Linked DNA regions of Homo sapiens: regions 2, 3, 4, 5, 6 and 7 are each linked to region 1. Evidence: promoter capture Hi-C in 16 types of primary human blood cells and fetal thymus (Javierre and others, 2016). All regions are on one chromosome and are shown on one strand. The core of a region is centred on a gene start or on the middle of the fragment in contact, and the rest is flanking DNA. Distances in the headings are between cores, read along the strand shown. Region 1 holds the start of YIPF5 (Yip1 domain family member 5). Region 2 overlaps LINC01844 (long intergenic non-protein coding RNA 1844). Region 3 has its middle 5.0 kb from the start of PRELID2. Region 4 overlaps LARS1 (leucyl-tRNA synthetase 1). Region 5 has its middle 5.2 kb from the start of PLAC8L1. Region 6 holds the start of SH3RF2 (SH3 domain containing ring finger 2). Region 7 overlaps GRXCR2 (glutaredoxin and cysteine rich domain containing 2).

Region 1 (2,700 bases), core at 163-2,662:
GAAACTAGTCCCCAACAATGGTCTGGCTTCTTTTGTGAGGGCCTCAGGATTTTGATCCCAGAATATAATGCAGTGGCTCATGATAAATTTTATTGCTATAAACCCTGAAGAAAGTTCTGCTCATTAGTTAATAGCATCTTATTTCGAGTCACAATATTCGGGATTCCACCATCTTGGGAAAGTGATTTAACACAGGAGCCAAAGCAATCATTTTCAAAAGAAAACAATTTAAACATCACTCATCAGTTCACAATCTTCACTTCTTTTAGAACCAACACACAAATCCCACAGGATATTTCCTGGCCCCTTCCTGTTATTCCAGCCTCAACTCCTATGTGGCTCCCCTCACTTGCTGTTCCAGTCACTCAGGTTCCACTTAGAAGAGTGGTTGACAAATTCAGCTAATGTTGCCCCCACCGCCCCCAAGGACATTTGGATTTGGCAATGTCTGGAGAGATTTTTAGCTGTCACAACTTGGTGGTGATGGTGGTGGTGGTTGGTTGGGGGGAGTACTGGCATCTAATGGCTAGAGATTAGGGATGCTACTGCTAAGCATCATGCACAGGGCAGCCCCCAATAAAGAAACATCCTGACTCAAAATGTTAATAATGCTGAAGTTCAGAGCTCGATTTTCATCTTTCCTCAGACCATGCTTCCCAGATCTTGCACACATTGTTCTCTTTGCCTAAAATATTCAGGCTATTTTCCCTTATCCTCCTTTCCCGTTGCCCTTTCTTCTCTTTTCTGGTCTTCTCTAACTCCCACTCACCCTTTGATAACCCTCTTATAGTGGCTTTACAGACTCTTCTTCCCAGATGAATGTTACTCTTTCAAAGAATTATGGAACACTAAAGAATATTAGTAGCAATTTCACATGCATTTGTATGTGTTCGATTACCCCTCTCCACCACCAACTCCAGGTGGGTAGATGTCACCTAGCTTATATTTACCACAGTATCCCCAGCAGCTAGCACAGAATGAATGAATACTTAATAGCTTCACTTACAAAAGGGAAATAGGGTAACCATCTCATTAGGTTGTAAAGATTAAATAATACATACAAACACTTTAGCACAGTGCTTGAATCACAGTAAATGCTGACACCGAGGCATTGTAGGCATTGTAGTTTGTGGACAGGAGAGGGGACTCCGTCTGTCTCATTTTAGCGCCTCCCAGTCTTCCTCCATCACCTAGGTCTGAGAAACTCCTCCTCCTACCTACGAGTAAGCAGCAATTGCTACGCCTGCGCTTTCCTGGTTCCACCCCTAACCAGGCTGCCGGAAGCACTTTCCTCTTTGGCACGGGCCAGCCGCAGGTTGGGTAGATACTGCGCAAGCTCCATACTCGTGTCTCCTCCTCCCGCCCACCGGTGCCCAACCTGCTAACACGCCTGCGCGAGCGGGCGTGCCCCGGAAGCCGTTCTTTGGCCCTGTGACACGTAGCAACGGGGCTGGTTCAGGGTCTGAAACAGAGTTTGGGGGTTGTTTGGGATTAGTGAAGCTACTGCCTTTGCCGCCAGCGCAGCCTCAGAGTTTGGTGAGTGACCCAGGCCCGTGGCACAGTGTTCAGCTTCTCTCCACACCCGTGCAAATGGGCTTGTTGCCGTCTTTCGGCGCCGCGCCCTGGTCCTTTCGCTCAGACCCTCGCTCTCATTCAAGCCCTTGCCCTGACGCGGTCCCCTGCACCTCAGGCGCGACCTTCCAGATTCTGCACTTTTTCCTGGCAGGCCGCAGGCCTTATTTTGCAAGGAAGCAGTCGCCTTGTCAGCTGTAAAGCCCAGTCCTAAGGTGAAAAATCATCTTTGTTGTTATTGATATTTTAGACCGCTTATGGAACCACAACTCCCACGACCTCGCCCCTAATGGAAGGCATATCAGCTCTTTAAGGTGGAGTTGTCTTACTGGGCCGCAACTTAAAAGAATATACATTTTCTTACTCTCTCTCCGCTACCGTCGTTCAAATGCTGCGTACTTTCCGCCCCCATCCCCTCTCCGAATTACTGAAAAAATATTTGTTGTGTTTCTATTTGCTTAAGCAGACTGCCAGGAACGAATTCAGTAGAACCTTGGGCATAAGGAATATTTGCCATTTCTCTTTTATTACAGATTATTTGCAATGTCAGGCTTTGAAAACTTAAACACGGATTTCTACCAGACAAGTTACAGCATCGATGATCAGTCACAGCAGTCCTATGATTATGGAGGAAGTGGAGGACCCTATAGCAAGTAACTTTTCATCTTTGGCAATTAATTTAGTCTACATTGCAGTGAAAACACATATTTAGAATATTTGGTTCTGCCTAAAACAATATGTGAACATGTCCTTTATCAGGAGTATGATCTTTCATGCATAATCTTCTTCCTCTAGAGAGATATGTGACACTGGCTTGGCTTCGAAGGTATTGTTCTATTTAAGAGTTGAGTGTCTTCTGCAAACTCTTCAGGTGTACCATGAATGGAAAAGTAGCTTGTTTGAAGAACTGTTTTCTAGTAACAGTATTTCTGTATTTAGAAGATGATGGGAGCTTCAGGTACCTAGGAGATAGGCTGTTAGTTCATAGGACCAGTGAAAAATTAAAGTATTTTGTTAGTAGTTAAATCAGTCCAACTCTGAGACTTTTATCAGTGCTAATTGAAAGTGCTTAGTGACATTATTTAATGATGTAAGCTCCTTATTACGAATCATCAGGCGATTTTCATA
Region 2 (2,700 bases), core at 189-2,688, 1.4 Mb after region 1:
TTAATACTGTAGATAGTCAGGACTACCCAAGAGGGGTCCCAGCCTTGCTCCTTGCTCAATGCTTAATATGCTCAATGCTTAGTATGCTCAACGGTAGATGCTTTCTAGGAAACAGCCTAACCTGCCTGATCCACTTGGTGCAGGCTTGTCACAAATAGGGAAAGACCTCTCCCTGTCCTCACATTCCCTCAAACCTCAAACCATGAAATCAGCTAACACAAATTGGACCTCAAAAAATGTTGTCAACAAACCCAAACCTTTCCCCTAAAATTACTAAATTCATCCATTTTGCATTGCTATAAAGGAATACCCAAGACTGGGTACTTTATAAAGAAAAGTATATTTGGCTCATGGTTCTGCAGGCTGTACAAAAAGCATGGCACCAGCATTTGTTTCTGGTCAGGACTTTAGGAAGCTTTTACTCATGGAGGAAGGTGAAAGGAGAGAAGATGAGTCATATGGTGAGAGAGGAAGCAGGCGAGATGGAGGAGAGGCGCCAGGCTTTTTAAACAACCAGCTCTCGCATGAACTAATAGAGTAAGAACTCACTCATTATGGCAAGGAGGGCACCAAGCCATTCATGAGAGATTTGCCTCTGTGACCCAAACACTTCCCACTAGGCCCTACTTCCAACATTGGGGGATCACATTTCAACATGAGATTTGGTGGGGACAAATATTCAAACTGTATCATACCTTATCCCATTTTTATTTCTGCAATGTTCTTTTCCTATATCAGATCCTATGGAAATTTGATGATGTAGTGGGCCTCCAAGTTGGTTGTAAGCAGAATCACACAAGAAGCTTATTAAAAATACAGATGCCCCAGCCCTATGCCAAACCTAGCTTCTCTATTTTTAGCAAGCTCCACAGGTAATTCTGATGCACTGCCAAGTCTCTGAACCACTGCTTTAGCCAACTGGATGGAATAAGGGAAATTCCCATTTGGCTGGTAGGAGTCAGAACATTTCCTTTCTGCCACTACCTGTGGCTCCTGGGCAAACTACTTTAATTCAGTTCCTCAGTTGTCCCTTTAAGTAAAGTGATGATTCCTCCATGATATCTCTGCCCTAGAAGCTTGCGTAGTATGAAAGTATTGATATCTTCCCATGATCTAGTCCCACTTTGGGTGGCCAAGCCTCAGTTTCCTCAAGGAACTACCTGCCCCTCACTGACTGGAGGAAGGCTTTGTAGGACTGTCAATCAAGGTGCTCTGCTGCCCTCTGGCTGCCCCCTGGGCCCAAGACCCAAGTTTGGCCAACCAGATTTTCTCTCCCAGGAAATTAAATACTGAGAGAGCTGAAGCAGAGACAAAATAAATGAAGTTGATTCATCTGGTACGGGTGACCCCAAAAATCTGTTAGTTTCTGCTTCCTAAGCTGTTGCCCTGGTTCTTGTGCTCTCAGAAACCTGGTTTTTCAGCCTTTCCCTCAGATCTGTAAGCAACCCTGATAGCCTTGGAATAAATTGTTTCTTTTGCCTAAGTGAGCCAGAGTTAGTTCTGTTGCTTGCCACCAAAGAATTCTAACTGATTCTCACAATCAAGATCTTTGATAGAGTGTTGTATATAATAATGATGTCATAGCTTCCATTCTTATAAAGCCATTGTGAATGATTCTCTTGTAGCTAAAGTGACCGTTCTATAGAAGGTCAAAAGTTTGTTTTAATAATGACATCTTTGTTCCAGTAATTCCAGACAGTGAAAATTTCTCAATAGTGTAAGAGGTTATTCACTGTCCTGCTGAAATATCTTAAGTGGAAACAGGCCTTGGGTAAATACTCTTCCTCTAAACAAAGCTTATTGTTCTGGACCCAGGGAAGGAAAGGACAAGAGAAAAAAGAAAAAGGAAAAAAGTTTGGGCTCAGTTTAAACCAGCTCCCATTCAGCTATATCTGCCCTTTACATACAAATTTAATAAAAAGTTGACTCTTTATGTATTTTTTTAAAGGCTGGAAATTGCATCCGAATACACATTTTAAGGGGTGACTTGCAGAGAAAATAGCTTCAGTGATTGAACCCTTTTCTCTCATCAGCCTATATTTTATTTCTACCCCCATCTCATTGTTACAGTTTTTACTCTTTCTTATTGTTACTGACATCCTCACTATTTCTCACCTTTATTGGCTGTGTTAACAGTTATGAGCACTTGCTGTGAACCAGGCACGATGATAGATGTTTGACACGTATTACCTCATTTAATCCTTACAGTGCCCTTCAAAGCCAGTATTATTATTCCCATTTTACAGAGGGGAAACTTGAAGCTCAGTGAGGTTAAGTAATAGGGCTAATGTGCAACATGACCAATCACTTACCTGTGTGTCCCTATCTGTCCCCAAGTCTTCCTTACACTGTGACCCATTGCCTTAAATTGAAAGTACCTGCTTAGTCCAAGGCATCACTGGAAAGAATATTAAATGTGGCATTGTAGCTCAAAAAAAAAAAGACAACTGAACTCATTGCCCATGTCATGTTCTATATTCCTGACTAGACTATAAGCTCCTTAAGGGCAAACACTATGTTCTGTCTACCACAATATTACCAGCACATGCCTAGCACAGAGGAGGTTCTCAAAAAATGCTTATAGAATCAGTGAATATCCTATAGGGTCCTCAGAATAAGGGACCATCACAAGGTTAGGAGAAAATGTCAAGAAATCCCTTTCTGGGAAACAGAAATTCCAGGTTACCCCTAGTGAATTCA
Region 3 (2,700 bases), core at 58-2,557, 1.7 Mb before region 1:
CTCTTAATCTAAAGTTCTTATAAAAATTTGGACACAAAAACAGACAAGTGTAGAGAGAAGACAATGTGAAGTCACAAGAAGACCATCCACAAGCTAAGAAATGCCTGGGGCTATTAGAAGCTAGGGGAGAGGCATGGGACAGATTCTCCCTCTGAACCCTCAGAAGGAATCCATCTTGCCAACAACACCTTGATTTATGACTTCTGGAATCCAAAGCTGTGAGACAATAAATTTATGTTTTTCAAGCCATCCATTTGTGGCACTTTGAAAATGAACACATCTGGCTTTATTTCCCTCTACAGTCAGACAGGCTTTCTCTAGATGGTGGCCAGACTGGGCCTTGGCTCTTCTTCTTCCCACTTCTGATCTTTCAGCACACCTTTCCAGCTCTACCTTCACAAGGGATCCAGAACCTAAAAACTGATCACCACTGATACCACTGTGGTCTCAGCCATCATTTCCTCTTATCTAGATTATGGCAATCACCTCTTGAGGGGAGAACAAGCTCAAATCATGTTTTTTTCCTGTGCTCTCACATTACAAAAATCATCAACACAGAAGACGTTCTATTTTTTGTAGAGACCAGGTTTCACCATGTTGCCTAGGTCAGTATGAAACTCCTGAGTTCCTCTGCCCTCCTTCAGTAATGGCAATTGTGGTGAGAGTCAAATAAACTAATACATAATATTATTAATAATGTTATCTGCAGTACCATCACAACTGCAATTTTTGGCCCTCATGTATGATGAAATATCTTTGTAAGATATTTGCTATCTTAAAGACCAAATAAGGTCATGAAATTCTAAGGTTTGCCAGCACACATACAAATGTGTGTGTGGTTTCTCCCCACACAGCAAGCAAGCACTCAGGTCTGCAGTGGACACCAGCCAGGTGTCCTCCAATTCAATTCTGACACTACCTGGAGATAATTCAGAACCCACAAGTTGAGGACTCAGTCCCACAAGATCACTCCGCTGTCCCCACCGTCCCCCATTCAGATGTTAGTTGCAAGTCTTGGCCTCCAGAACTTCTGACTGACCCACTTCAAGATGGGCTTCCCATGATCCTCTCTTTGGATTCAGTTAATTTACTAGAGCAGCTCATAGAACTCAGGGAAACACTTACTTCCATTTACCAGTTTATTATAAAGGATAGTACAAAGGATGTAGCTGAAGAGATGCATAGGGCAAGGTATAGGGGAAGAGGCATGGAGCTTCCATGCCCTCCCTGGATGCACCATCCTCCAGGAATCTCCATATGTTTGGCTAGCTGGGAGCTCTCTGAACCCTGTTCTTTTGGGTCTCTTAGCAAGACTCCATTGGATAGACATGATTGAAGATAACCAGGTAGAAATACGATTAGGCAAAAAAGGATATGATATAATACTAACAGACTGAGTCAGGAAACCTAGTAAGGCCCGCCTGTCTAGATTCTTCTTGGCCTTCCTGTGCAGCATTTCTTCCTGCAGGGTATGGGGTGGGACACTCTCTGGAATGAGAAATCAATCAGAAAAGCCAGGAAAGATTAGAGTCCTGCCTTGGGCAGGTGAAGGGAAGTCAGAAGAAGGTCGGAGAGAGAAAAGCCTGCTTCTGAGGCCTAAAGTGTCCCAATACTATAGCAAAAGACTGTAGCAAGGGCTATGGGAGTTATCAGCCAGGAACCATGAATCTATATTTATACGTGGAGGAGTGGAGTTTAGTGAGGAGTGGGAGTTGGGGAGGAAATTTTACATATATATATGTAAAATATCATACCTCTTAATTGGTCTCTTTCTTTGCTTTGCCTCCCCATAGTCACTTCTCCAAACTGTAAGTAGCCAGAATGATTCTGTTAAAATATACAGTTGAGATCATGTCTCTCCTCTGCTCAAAACTCTCAATGGCCTCCCATCTCATACAGATAAAGCCAACATCTTTACCATGGCCTGGAGGACCCTATGTGACCTAGATTCATGTTTTCTGACCTTATATCTCAGGAACTCTGCAACAGCCATACTGGCCTCCTTGTAGCTCTGAAATGTATCAGGAGAATGCCTGTTTCAGGTCTTGGAACCTGCCATTCCTTCTACGTGGAATGATCCTCCTCCAAATACGAGCATGACTTGCCCTCCTCTTCTTGCAACTTTTCTACTTTAATGTCATTTTCTCAGAGAGGTCTTCCTTAGCTCTTTTAAAAAATTTTAACACTGCTCCTCTCTCCCCTGCCCTGCCATCACTTCTCATCCTTCTTCTCCAGTTTTTGTCTCCTTAGTACCCACGCTTACTTATCATACATGATATTTTACATATTTGAATCTATTCTGATACTTTGCTTTGTTTTCCTTGCAAATTCTCATTCTGTACCCTGGTTTCAATAACTATATCCCTGTTCCCTGCCTTGGCTTGTGTCTCTAGCTCACATCTCAAATGTCAGGTTGCTGGATTTTAGAGACAGTCTTGGCCCACTCAGTTTCTGCCCCTGCATTTCAGTTTTTGTTGACGGAAAAACTGAGCTGCAGGGGCAGGAAGGATTTTGTTCAAGGTCATATTTTATATTAAGTACATTCGTGAGTTTATTCAACATATACTAGGTGCCAAGCATTTTACTAGGCACTGGATAGAGAGGAGTGAATAATATATGCAGTTCCTCCAGTCTTGAGAATGTCACAGTAACAGTGATTTATATATACAGATAATTATAAGACTGGATACAAAAAATCAG
Region 4 (2,700 bases), core at 83-2,582, 2.0 Mb before region 1:
GGGCTTTGCAAGGTATCCAACTGGACACATAGGACACAGTTGATACTCAGTAACCATATTTTTAATGCATTGAATTTTTTTTTCTTCTTCCAGGAATGCGTTTGGCTCTGGCTGATGCTGGTGACACTGTAGAAGATGCCAACTTTGTGGAAGCCATGGCAGATGCAGGTATTCTCCGTCTGTACACCTGGGTAGAGTGGGTGAAAGAAATGGTTGCCAACTGGGACAGCCTAAGAAGTGGTCCTGCCAGCACTTTCAATGATAGAGTTTTTGCCAGGTAATCTGTAGATCCCAATCATTTTGTGTTTTAGAGTTACTTAGTCCTGGTGCATTTTTGTTTTCTTTTTCTTTTCTTTTCTTTTTTTTTTTTAATAAAATAAACTAATGATAATAATAGCTAGTGTTCATTGAAGGCTTACTTGTGCCGGGTACTATGCTAAGTATTTTGTGTCCATTATCTGACTTTAACCTCAAAGCAACCTTATTTAATACAGATATTATTAGCTCTATTTTATAAATAAAGAAACTGAAGCTTAGAACAATTAAGTATTTCCTTAAATGCCTTAAAGCTAGTAGTTGCAAACTTGGGATATGAACTTGCTTCTGTCTGTCTTGAAAGTCTGTTCTCATAACCATTTTACCATGTTGTCTTGTTTTCGAGTAGGGCAAAATGGTTAAAGGAAAAGTAGATTAAAAGAAAAGGATAAATATCTTTGGAGTCATCCTACGCACTGGTATTATAAAGATGAATGAGACCTGATCCTTATTGTCTAGCAAGAGAGACAAACACCCAGTTTCTAAGCACAATAATAGAGACAAGGAGAATTCAGAGATGTCATGTGACTTCTGGGTTTCTTTTTTTTTTTTCCTGAGACAGAGTCTCGCACTGTCACTCAGGCTGGAGTGCAATGGCACAATCTCAGCTCACTGCAGCCTCTGCCAGGTTCAAGCTATTCTTCTGCCCCAGCCTCCCTACTAGCTGGGATTACAGGTGCCTGCCACCACGTCTGGCCAATTTTTTGTATTTTTAGTAGAGATGGGGTTTCACTGTGTTGGCCAGGCTGGTCTCGAACTCATGACCTTGTGATCCACCTGCCTCAGTCTCCCAAAGTGCTGGGATTACAGGCGTGAGCCACCACGCCCGGCCAAATTCTGGGTTTCTTGAAAAATAAACAATGTTTTCAGGGAGAGGAGAAAGTGTGGATAAGCCATGGAAAGGGTCTGATATTTATTTGAAGTACATTATCTTGTGGGCAGAGGTAGGAAATGAAACAGGTTGGGGCCAGATTAGGCCAAATTAAGAAGAACCTGGATTGGTATGAGAAAATTTTTTTCTGATATCCAGTATTAGTTATTGTAAATGCAATAATTAAAACCTGGCTATGGCCAGGCACTGTGGCTCACGCCTGTAAACCAGGCACTTTGAAAGGCTGAGGTGGGAGGATTGCTTGAGCCCAGGAGTTTGAGACCAGCCAGGGCAACAAAGTGAGATCCTGTCTCTACAAAAAAAAAAAAAATTAGCTGGGTGTGGTGGCTTGCGCCTGTAGTCCTAGTACTTGGGAGGCTGAGGTGAGAAGATTCTTTGAGCCTAGGAGTTTGAGGCTGCAGTGAGTTGTGATCATACCACTGCATTCTAGCCTAGGTGACAGAGACCCTGTCTCAAAAAAAAAAAAAAAAAAAAAAAAAAACTTGGCTACAACCTTAGTTAGGCTATTTTCATGTTGCATTTTGGGCTTTATAAGAATAAAGTGTCCATCAGGAAATTTCTGAAGAAGCATCATTTATTGTCATAAACAGGAGCCCTAAGCAGTGTCAGATGACAGTACTTAAGGATGGATAGACAATAGAGAGATTGCAGTAATTTGTTTTAAGGAACGCAAAGATGGTGTTGTGTTGAGCAGTTTTAAATGTTCTGGGCATTGTTCTCATTTTACTGCTTAAATGAGCAGTATTTCAAATTTGTATATTAAAAAGCAGTATTTTAAATTTGTGTATGCAGCAGTTTTTTATAGCTATGTATAAGTGCCTTTAAACTCAATAACCTTTTTTTCCCCGTATTCAATAGTGAATTGAATGCAGGAATTATAAAAACAGATCAAAACTATGAAAAGATGATGTTTAAAGAAGCTTTGAAAACAGGGTTTTTTGAGTTTCAGGTAGGCTGTTGATTCTTTTGGTAGCTATAAAACATGTCAATGTGAACATTATGTATTTTCCCCCTTTTTTCTTCCTGCTATAGCACAATTACTCGCCTAAAGTGTAGACTGAAAATCCTGCCAGAAAAATTTTAAATTCTTCAATAAATTGTGATTTTAAGTTATTATCTTTGGTATTTTTTCTATTGTGTCCATTTAATTTAATAATTCTGCTCCTAGTTAAGCTATGAGCATTAATATAAAGGAGATTAAATCTAAAATTCAGCTATACTTTCCAGGAAAACATTTCAAAATTGATAAAAACAAAGGCAAAATTGTAATTAATTGCCATTAATTTGAGAGCAAGCGTTTTCTGAGGTTTTCCACAAGGTGTCAGTATTTCCTCAAGTTTGGCATTTAAAGTGCTTAAAGTAAAAATGTAGCTTTACGCAATGAGCTGTGTAAAATATCACATTGAGTTTTATATAACTTGGTTTTCAGAGTTGTGGTTAAATAAGGATAAATGGCTGGGCATAGCAATGTGTTGTATTTATAGTCTTTTTTT
Region 5 (2,700 bases), core at 64-2,563, 1.9 Mb before region 1:
GTGATTGTGTTCATCTTATGAACCTGTACTGTTTTGGATTAGGTGTGAGTTGAGATTCATGGATCCTTTGTTTTTTCAGTCTTGATTTCTGTGTGTCTCTCTTAGAATAAGCTTCTTGCTGTGCTGAATATGCTTCTTATGTGTAGAGATACAAATGTTTTGTATAAGGAGTCGTCTGAGCATAAGCCCATTACTTCATCTGGTACTCAACAGAAGAACCAGCAGTTAGTTGAAATGCTGAAGGAAAAACAGGCTACACTGGGCTTATTCTATTATTAACAATAATATAATTGGGTGCATAATAATAATGTTATATATAACTTATGTTAGTGCCTTCCTAGAGGATTTTAACTCTTTTTAAGTTTTGAAATACAATGCACATACACAAAAAGTGAGCAAAAAATATACACACACAAAAAATGAACTTCCTTTCTCTCCCCACCTCCAAAAAAAGAATTTATTAATAAAGCAAACACCTGCACAGTCACCAAACAGTTGAAGAATGGCACAGTGCCAGCACCACAGAGGTCTGCCTTTTGCCTTCTCTGGTCGCTAGAGATAAGCTTTCTGGCCCAGTATATGTCAGTTTTTATAAATGTTGCATTTGAGCTTGAAAAAAATATATATTCTGTAAATGCAAAAGTACTGTATGTGTCCATTAGGTCAGAGTTGTGGATTGAATTGTTCAAACCTATATCCTTACTGTTTTCTCTCTTTCTGTTTTTGAGAGGTATACCAAAATCTCTCATGACAATGAAATTTACCTGTATCTTGTTATAATTCTGACAGTTTTTGTTTTATATATTTTGAGGCTGTTTTGTTAGGTACATATAAATTCAGATTATATTCCTTCTGGTAAGTTGAACTTTTTCTAGTTAGAAAGTGTTTCTTTTTTGCCCAGGCTGGAGTGCAGTGGCACGATCTCGGCTCGTTGCAACCTCTGCCTCCCAGGTTCAAGCGATTCTCCTGCCTCAGCCTCCCGAGTAGCTGGGATTACAGGCACTTGCTACCACGCCCGGCTAATTTTTGTATTTTTTTTCTTTTTCTTTATTATTATTATTATTATTATTATACTTTAAGTTTTAGGGTACATGTGCACAATGTGCAGGTTAGTATACATGTGCCATGCTGGTGTGCTGCACCCACTAACTTGTCATTTAGCATTAGGTATATCTCCTAATGCTATCCCTCCCCCGTCCCCCCACAATTTTTGTATTTTTAGTAGAGACAGGGTTTCACCATTTTGGCCAGGCTGGTCTCGAACTCCTGACCTCGTGATCCACCTGCCTTGGCCTCCCAAGGTGCTGGGATTATAGGCGTGAGCCACTGCACCCGGCCATTTCTCTTTATTTTTAATTAATTTATTTTTTGCCTAGAGACCACTTTGCCTAACAATATAGTAACACCAGTTATCTTTTGGTTAACGTCCATGCAGACTATCTTTTCCATTCATTTACTTTTAACCTTCAGTAGTTTTATTTTCTTTTAACACTTCATTTCGAGAAATTTTAAGCCTACAGAAAAGTGGAAAGAATTGGCCAGTAAACATCCATGCGCTTGTCACCTAGATTTGCCAATTGTTAATATTGTGTCACGTTTACTTTATCTCTCTAAGTATCTATTTTTAAAATAAACTTTTAATTTTGGAATAGTTTTGGACTTACATAAAAGTTGCATCTTTAATATGGAGAGATCCTGTACATCTTTTACACAGTTTCTCCTGTTAACATCTTACTTAACCTTGGTTTAGTTGTTAAAACTAAGTAATTAACATGAGTACATTATGATTAACTAAATTGTATACTTTGTTTGGATTTCACCAATTTTTCTATTAATTTTTTTTACTATTATGGGATCCTATCCAGGATAACACATTGTATTTAGAAAATATTTTTTAAAAATTCAGAACCATTTGACAGTAAGTTACAGACACCATGACACTTCATCTTCCCATAGGTTATCACGCAACTCCTAAGAACTTGGACATTCTCCTATATAATCACAGTGTTGTTATTATGCCCAAGAAATTTAACATGATACAATAATATTAGGTAATAAGCTTTTCTAGTAAAACTTCCCCAATGTCTCATCAATAATGTGTTCTTTGAAAAACTCTCAGGATTCAAAGATCAAGTATTACATTTTGTGGTTAGGTCTGTTAATCTCCTTTAAACTAGGGTAGTTTCTCTGTTCTTTTTTTGATCTTTCATGACAGTAACATCTTTGAAGACATCAAGCTGGTCGTTAGCATGATGCTTACAATCTGGATTTCTGTATTTTCTCATGGTTGTAATCAGATTTAAAATTCTTGGCAAGATTACTACATAGGTGATGTTTCCCACTGGATCATGTCAGGATTAATGTATTGTGGATTTGATTAGCATCATATTTCTCGGTTGAAAAGCTACTCTTCCTTTTTGTAATTAAGTAGTCTGTGAGCTGATACTTTGAGGCTTATATGAATATCCTGCTGTTATGATCTGAGTGTTCATGTCCCCCCAGAATTTATATGTTGAAACTTAATCTTCACGGTGTTGGTATTAAGAGGTGGGGCCTGTAGGAGGTGATTAGGTCATGAGGGTGGCTTCCTCATGAATGGGATTAGTGCTCTTACAAAAGAGGCTTGAGGGAGTCCTGTTGCCTTTATGCCATGTGTGGACACACAAGGCACCAGCTATAAGGAATGGGCCCTCACCAGAA
Region 6 (2,700 bases), core at 80-2,579, 1.8 Mb before region 1:
CACCTGGAGGAGCAGCGTCCACATGGTAGGGTCAGTTGAGCCACGGGGGCAGAGCTGGTCTCTTGAGAACGTCAGAATTTTTGCCTGCTTGAAGGAGGGAGAGGAGAGAAAAAAAAATGTGACTGCTCCGAGAGGTATATCCCACCTACATTGAGGCAGTGTCTCATAAGGCAGTTTGCAAGTACTTTGTTCCGGCACCCAAGTTTCAAATGACTCATTCTGATTCAATGCTAGCAGGTATAAGACTCAACTCGTGCTTGCTGTGAGGATCAGAGGGAACATTCAGCACAAGACTGACTGCTTATTGCCTATGTGGACAGGAAAGCAGGGAGATAAACTGGCCTGCTGAAGTGGCCCCCCAACCCCTCTCTACCAGCCAGGGCGGGAAGAGGTCCTTTACCCCCTGCCCGGGGAAAGCTCCTGGACAGTCTCAATTCTTACAACAAAGCCCCCTCCGAACGCAATTTCTGTGAAGCTATCTCCTCCTCCTCCTTCCCCTAAATCTAAATGTATCTATTATCTGCACCACATGCAGATTAGTTTAGGTGGGTAAGTTTATCTGAATCTCATGCAGATGTAGAATTATTTCCTTCACAATATACCTTCCCACATGATTCTAGCAATGTACAAGAAAAATTTCCACTAGAAACCCATTTCCAAAAATTGTTTTGCCTTAACCACAGGTCAGGGTGCTTGGAAGCTTTGTTTCTTTTCTTTTTTCATCTTTTTTTTTTTTTCTCTCCTCATCCCGATTACCTTAGGCTCAGAGACAATGTTCCTCCCACAAGGTAAAGTAGTGCAGCCTGTTTAGTTACTTTGACATTGTTCTCAATTTCAAATGAAGCAGATAGGAATTCTGGATTGTGGTCACGACCTGTAAAAACCGTACTGGGGCAGCATATACAGGTAGGGGTCGTGTGTGTGTGTACTCTGAAAACAGTACTTGTTCCAGAAACAAGTTTCCTTTTGGATGTATGAAAAGAAGCCTCCAGTTTAGAAAAGTCTGGAAGAAGTCAGCTGTCCCTCACAAGTGCCAGGGCTTCGGTAAGCACCGAGCCCAGAGGTTTGGCGAGAAGGCCAGTGGCCCCACTAGCGACTAGTAAGCAGGACAGACACGACCGAGAATGAGCGATGGCGCCTCGCCTTCCTAAGCCTCCTCTCCAAAGATGTCAGCGCGGCAGCGGGCTGGGGAGGCGTGTGGGGGCCACTAACCTTGTGCATGTAACTTCTGCTGAGTTCAGCTCAGCCCCCTCCTCCGCGCAGCAGGGGTGCGCTGCGCCCTCCAACCGGCTTCCTTTCCTCCAAGCGCCGCTGCTGCCAACCGCTTTGAAAACTTTAACCACTCAGTCTTACTCATTTCAAGGGATCGCCTTACCCAGCCCTGTTAACGCTTTCACTGCCAGGGCGCTGCCTACTTACCACGCTTTTGTTGTTGCAGTTGTTAACTTTATGATCTTTCCTTCAGTTTACTGAATTGCTTCTGGGAAAAGATTGTAAGAGGTAAAATATAAGCCAGTCCCTAAGGCCAAGTATTTACAAAGTTCATATTTTCACCTTTCCCGTTTTCTGTAGTATCCAAGGAGTCAGAACCTGCTCCATTATAAACATACCAAAGTGATTGTGTTTATTTTAAATCTTCATAAGGATTTCCTGGGAAGGTCAAAAGTAAAAATGGTCAAGCTATGAAAACAAGGATAAGTCGGACACCTAGAAAATATTGCTCTTTGAAAATCATAGTCAATCTCTGAATTTAGAGATAAGAGGGACTTTAGTGATCTTTTTGCTCAATCTGTTTAAATTAAAAAACTAGTGTCACGTATATACACATACGTGAAAAATCAAAGCACAGAGAAGCTTTTTCAAAAAAGGAAAAGCAGTGGCCTCCAAGCTCTCCTCCTGCCTGTTATCCACTGTAGTCTTTTCATATCCTCAGATTATGCCTATATTTCTATTTTTTGATTTATCGATAATACATTTCATGTAAAATTACAAAGGTATCCGATTAAGTGAATAATAACAATCTTAATGCCAGGGTAGTCCTTATCTGTGTCAACCACTGTTCTAAATACCTTACCTGTGTTAGCCCTTTAACCCCTTAACAACCCAAGGAGACACTAAACTATTCTTTACTTTCATCTTGCAGATGAGGGAACTTGAGACACAGAGAGGATAAATAACTCATCTCGGGAGTCACAGCTAGCAGAAGGCAAGTGGGCTGTGCTCTTAACAATGTCATGGAGTGATATAACTTTAAGAGGCTGGCCAGGCGCAGTGGCTCATGCCTGTAATCCCAACACTTTGGGAGGCCGACGTGGGCAGATCACAAGGTCAGGAGATCAAGACCATCCTGACCAACATGGTGAAACCTCATTTCTACTAAAAATACAAAAATTAGCTGGGCATGGTGGTGCGCACCTGAAGTCCCAGCTACTCAGGAGGCTGAGGCAGGAGAATCGCTTGAACCTGGGAGGCGGAGGCTGGAGTGAGCTGAGATCGTGCCACTGCACTCCAGCCAGGGCGACAAAAAAAAAAAAAAAAAAAAAGAGGTGAAGAGGTGGTTCAAGGGAGCTAAGCCTCCCCTAAGAGGGCAAGAGGTCAAAAGATAATGGACAAAACTGGCTACTCACTTTCTCTTACAGATGAGGCAGCTGTGCCCAGAAAGATCAAGGGATTCTTTGAAGTTGTCCAGTGAGTTAGGGG
Region 7 (2,700 bases), core at 199-2,698, 1.7 Mb before region 1:
TAGAAGTTCCTTCTCTGCTGTTTCCTGGTATGTTGGACAGGTTCTGCAGCCCTCTACTTGGTGATTGGTGGTAAAGTTTCCATGCTCATTCTCCATTTCTCTAGCCCCTACCTATTATAGATTTTGGAAAGATAATCATCTACACTAATAACCTGAAAATCATTCGAACCCCAATGGACAAGAGAGATTTTGTGAGGAAAATTCTCCAGAAGGAAGAGGAGGCTGAGGAAGAGTCTCTGATGAACAAAGAAGAAAGCTATGGAGGCAGGGACCAGCACGATAGACCTTTGGTGGAGGCAGAAAGCACATTACCCCAAAACCGGTATACACAGGTGCGTTGGGGAGCTTGACTGTCCTGCTCGGAGCTGGCCCTACAGCAATGGTCTCCAAGCTGGCTTGATTGTGCACTGCTTAAGTAAAACCTTTTGAATATGAATACTTAAGATACCTAAACTTGAAGATATGAGGAATTTTAACATTTGTTATATTTTAATGGTACATTGTTAGCAATAGCAGTTATAAGTCCATATTTCAGATACTCTAAATTTTTAATTTTTTGGCTGACTTCTTTTTAGATCTGATTAAATATTTATTGTTTTCACTGTGCAGTGTGGTTTATGAACAGCTGGTTCTAGAGGTGGAAAAATATATCAGCCCTATATTTTCTTTTTTCTTTCTTTCTTTTTTTTTTTTTTTTTGAGAAGGAGTTTCACTCTTTTTGCCTGGGCAGGATCTCAATGGCGTGATCTTTGCTCACTGCAACCTCTGTCTCCTGGATAAGTGATTCTCCTGCCTCAGCCTCCTGAGTAGCTGGGATTTCAGGCACCCACCACCATGCCTAATTTTTTTTTATTTTTAATAGAGATGGGGTTTCACCATGTTGTCCAGGCTGGTCCCGAACTCCTGTCTTCAAGTGTTCCATCTGCCTCGGCCTCCCAAAGTGCTGGGATTACAAGCATGAGCCACCGTGCCTGGCCTGGCCCTATCTTTTCTTATGGGTTCACTTGTTCTTCTATTATTGGTGTTATCCTTGATCCATAGTCTCCTGGAAGACATCATGTAAAGTCATGATTCCATTTGGCAGATTAGTTTAGCTAAAACTAAGGAGTATCCTTTGTAAATCCACTAGACCAGGCACAAGTAAACTGCAACATGTTGCAATGTGCTGAAAGTGAACAAGTGAGCTGGACGCTACTGTCAGCAACATTTGAACATCACTCTTACTCCAGGGTCCCTTGGGTACCACACTTGTCTAGTGACTGCCTGACCTAATATGGCTGTCAGTGTCCACAAGTTTATTAAAAGTTAGTATAAAAATTCTTTTAAAAATGTTAATAAAGCTTAATATCTGCCTAATTGTAGATAAAAAGTAAATATGAATATTCCAATGTTTTCCTCTCATACCCCTTAGAAGTGTGCACGCACCACCTTGGAAACCATAGCTCAGACATGCTCAGACCAGGGGGAGGAGGGCTGATATTCGTTCATTCACAGTGTGAGGTTGGGGGTGGAGGAAGCAATTTTGATGCATTTAAGCCGAAAGATTAAAAGCTTGGGTAGCTGGATGAATGAATTTTCTCTCTCTTAGATTCCATCTCCTGGGACTTGATGTTTTCTGTGGGATTCACTGTAATCTCCTGGGATTGCTATGAAAAAATTGGTCAGGGGCTTTCTGGAACTTGAGTGATGTCTCTACTCTGGGAGGGTTCAGATGATGAGAACAAGAAGGTCATGACTGGGCTTTGAGTAATGGCCTTAGACAAGAGGCACCAAAGGCTCCTTCTTATCTCATTTCTCCCATATCATAAGTCTATCTACCTCTCCACAATTTCTCTAAAATCTACTTTTTTCTCTCTTCCTTTCTACCTCTCCTTCCCTTCCCCTAGAGCATAAGCAACTGGGACTCTAGCAAAAGGTTCTGAAAGTTCCACTCACATCCATTCAGGTACCTTTCCAACCTGCCCCCACACTCAAAAAGATATTTTTAAATGTAATCTGATTAGGTCACCCCCTTTGTCACTGTATTAGTCCGTTTTCACACTGCTCTAAAGATAGTACTTGAGACTGAGTAATACATAAACAAAGGAGGTTTAATTGACTCACAGTTCCAAATGGCTGGGGAGGCCTCAGGAAACTTACAATCTTGGTGGAAGGTGAAGGGGAAGCAAGGCACATCTTACATGGCAGCAGGGGAGAGAAAGAGAGAGAGAGAGCTTGAGAAAGTGCCATGCTTTAAAACCACCAGCTCTGGTGAGAACTCACTTATCACGAGAACAGCATGAGGGAAACTGCCCCCATGATCCAATCACCTTCCACCAGGTTCCCCCCTTGACACATGGAGATTACAATTCAAGATGAGATTTGGGTAGGGACACAGAGCCAAACCATATCAGTCACCCCCTCTAAGCTTTCAGTGTCTTTTCATTGCTTGGGATAAAACCGCAAACTCCTTACTTGTCCCAGAAAGCTCTGTGTAGCCTGGCCTCTGCTGGCCCCTCCAGCATCATCTCTTACACATCTTTTCTCATGCTCTTGGCCCCAGACACACTGCCCATCTCCCCATCTCCATCCCTCATATATTATTTTCTCTTTCCTACCAGAGGCCAATCCCCTCTGCCTGGAATGTCCCCAGACTCCCACCACCCTGCCTTCAGCTTCTGAGATCTCAGAGGAGGCATCACTTCCTCAGAGGGATCTTCC

What was found. The method cuts DNA at HindIII sites, captures the fragments that hold promoters and counts their contacts. A CHiCAGO score of 5 or more calls a contact.
Region 2: a fragment that was not itself captured here is called in contact with the fragment with the promoter of YIPF5 in region 1 in 4 of 17 cell types (total B cells, naive B cells, fetal thymus and 1 more); the score reaches 6.0 in total B cells.
Region 3: a fragment that was not itself captured here is called in contact with the fragment with the promoter of YIPF5 in region 1 in 4 of 17 cell types (monocytes, M1 macrophages, naive B cells and 1 more); the score reaches 8.6 in monocytes.
Region 4: a fragment that was not itself captured here is called in contact with the fragment with the promoter of YIPF5 in region 1 in 6 of 17 cell types (M2 macrophages, M0 macrophages, neutrophils and 3 more); the score reaches 13.3 in M2 macrophages.
Region 5: a fragment that was not itself captured here is called in contact with the fragment with the promoter of YIPF5 in region 1 in 1 of 17 cell types (M2 macrophages); the score reaches 6.2 in M2 macrophages.
Region 6: a contact is called between the fragment with the promoter of SH3RF2 here and the fragment with the promoter of YIPF5 in region 1, in 2 of 17 cell types (M0 macrophages and M2 macrophages). The highest score is 10.7, in M0 macrophages.
Region 7: a contact is called between a fragment that was not itself captured here and the fragment with the promoter of YIPF5 in region 1, in 2 of 17 cell types (M1 macrophages and M2 macrophages). The highest score is 7.1, in M1 macrophages.

The regions. Positions count from the first base shown.
Region 1 is chr5:144,169,371-144,172,070 of GRCh38, reverse strand. YIPF5 (Yip1 domain family member 5) reads left to right here and starts at 1,412. Exons shown (of 6, transcript NM_030799.9): 1 at 1,412-1,536; 2 at 2,106-2,225. The coding sequence starts at 2,116. It overlaps KCTD16 (potassium channel tetramerization domain containing 16), which reads right to left and starts at 1,198. Exons shown (of 4, transcript NM_020768.4): 1 at 1,062-1,198. RefSeq lists an enhancer at 1,271-1,550. The HindIII fragment of the contact is 8,610 bases long and covers 1-2,700 here.
Region 2 is chr5:142,747,289-142,749,988 of GRCh38, reverse strand. All of the region lies in intron 1 of LINC01844 (long intergenic non-protein coding RNA 1844), which reads right to left. Among named protein-coding and RNA genes, the nearest start is that of LINC01844, 3.0 kb to the right of the region's middle. The HindIII fragment of the contact is 720 bases long and covers 1,079-1,798 here.
Region 3 is chr5:145,838,994-145,841,693 of GRCh38, reverse strand. No RefSeq gene overlaps it. Among named protein-coding and RNA genes, the nearest start is that of PRELID2, 5.0 kb to the right of the region's middle. The HindIII fragment of the contact is 9,611 bases long and covers 1-2,700 here.
Region 4 is chr5:146,130,475-146,133,174 of GRCh38, reverse strand. LARS1 (leucyl-tRNA synthetase 1) reads left to right here. Exons shown (of 32, transcript NM_020117.11): 23 at 94-277; 24 at 2,066-2,156. Among named protein-coding and RNA genes, the nearest start is that of PLAC8L1, 26 kb to the right of the region's middle. RefSeq lists an enhancer at 1-16. The HindIII fragment of the contact is 1,595 bases long and covers 535-2,129 here.
Region 5 is chr5:146,109,473-146,112,172 of GRCh38, reverse strand. No RefSeq gene overlaps it. Among named protein-coding and RNA genes, the nearest start is that of PLAC8L1, 5.2 kb to the right of the region's middle. The HindIII fragment of the contact is 1,496 bases long and covers 566-2,061 here.
Region 6 is chr5:145,935,207-145,937,906 of GRCh38, reverse strand. It overlaps SH3RF2 (SH3 domain containing ring finger 2), which reads right to left and starts at 1,329. Exons shown (of 10, transcript NM_152550.4): 1 at 1,213-1,329; 2 at 1-84. LOC107986458 (a long non-coding RNA gene) reads left to right here. Exons shown (of 4, transcript XR_001742913.2): 4 at 2,144-2,206. RefSeq lists an enhancer at 1,014-1,591. The HindIII fragment of the contact is 1,154 bases long and covers 703-1,856 here.
Region 7 is chr5:145,864,133-145,866,832 of GRCh38, reverse strand. GRXCR2 (glutaredoxin and cysteine rich domain containing 2) reads left to right here. Exons shown (of 3, transcript NM_001080516.2): 2 at 105-332. Among named protein-coding and RNA genes, the nearest start is that of GRXCR2, 7.5 kb to the left of the region's middle. The HindIII fragment of the contact is 211 bases long and covers 1,343-1,553 here.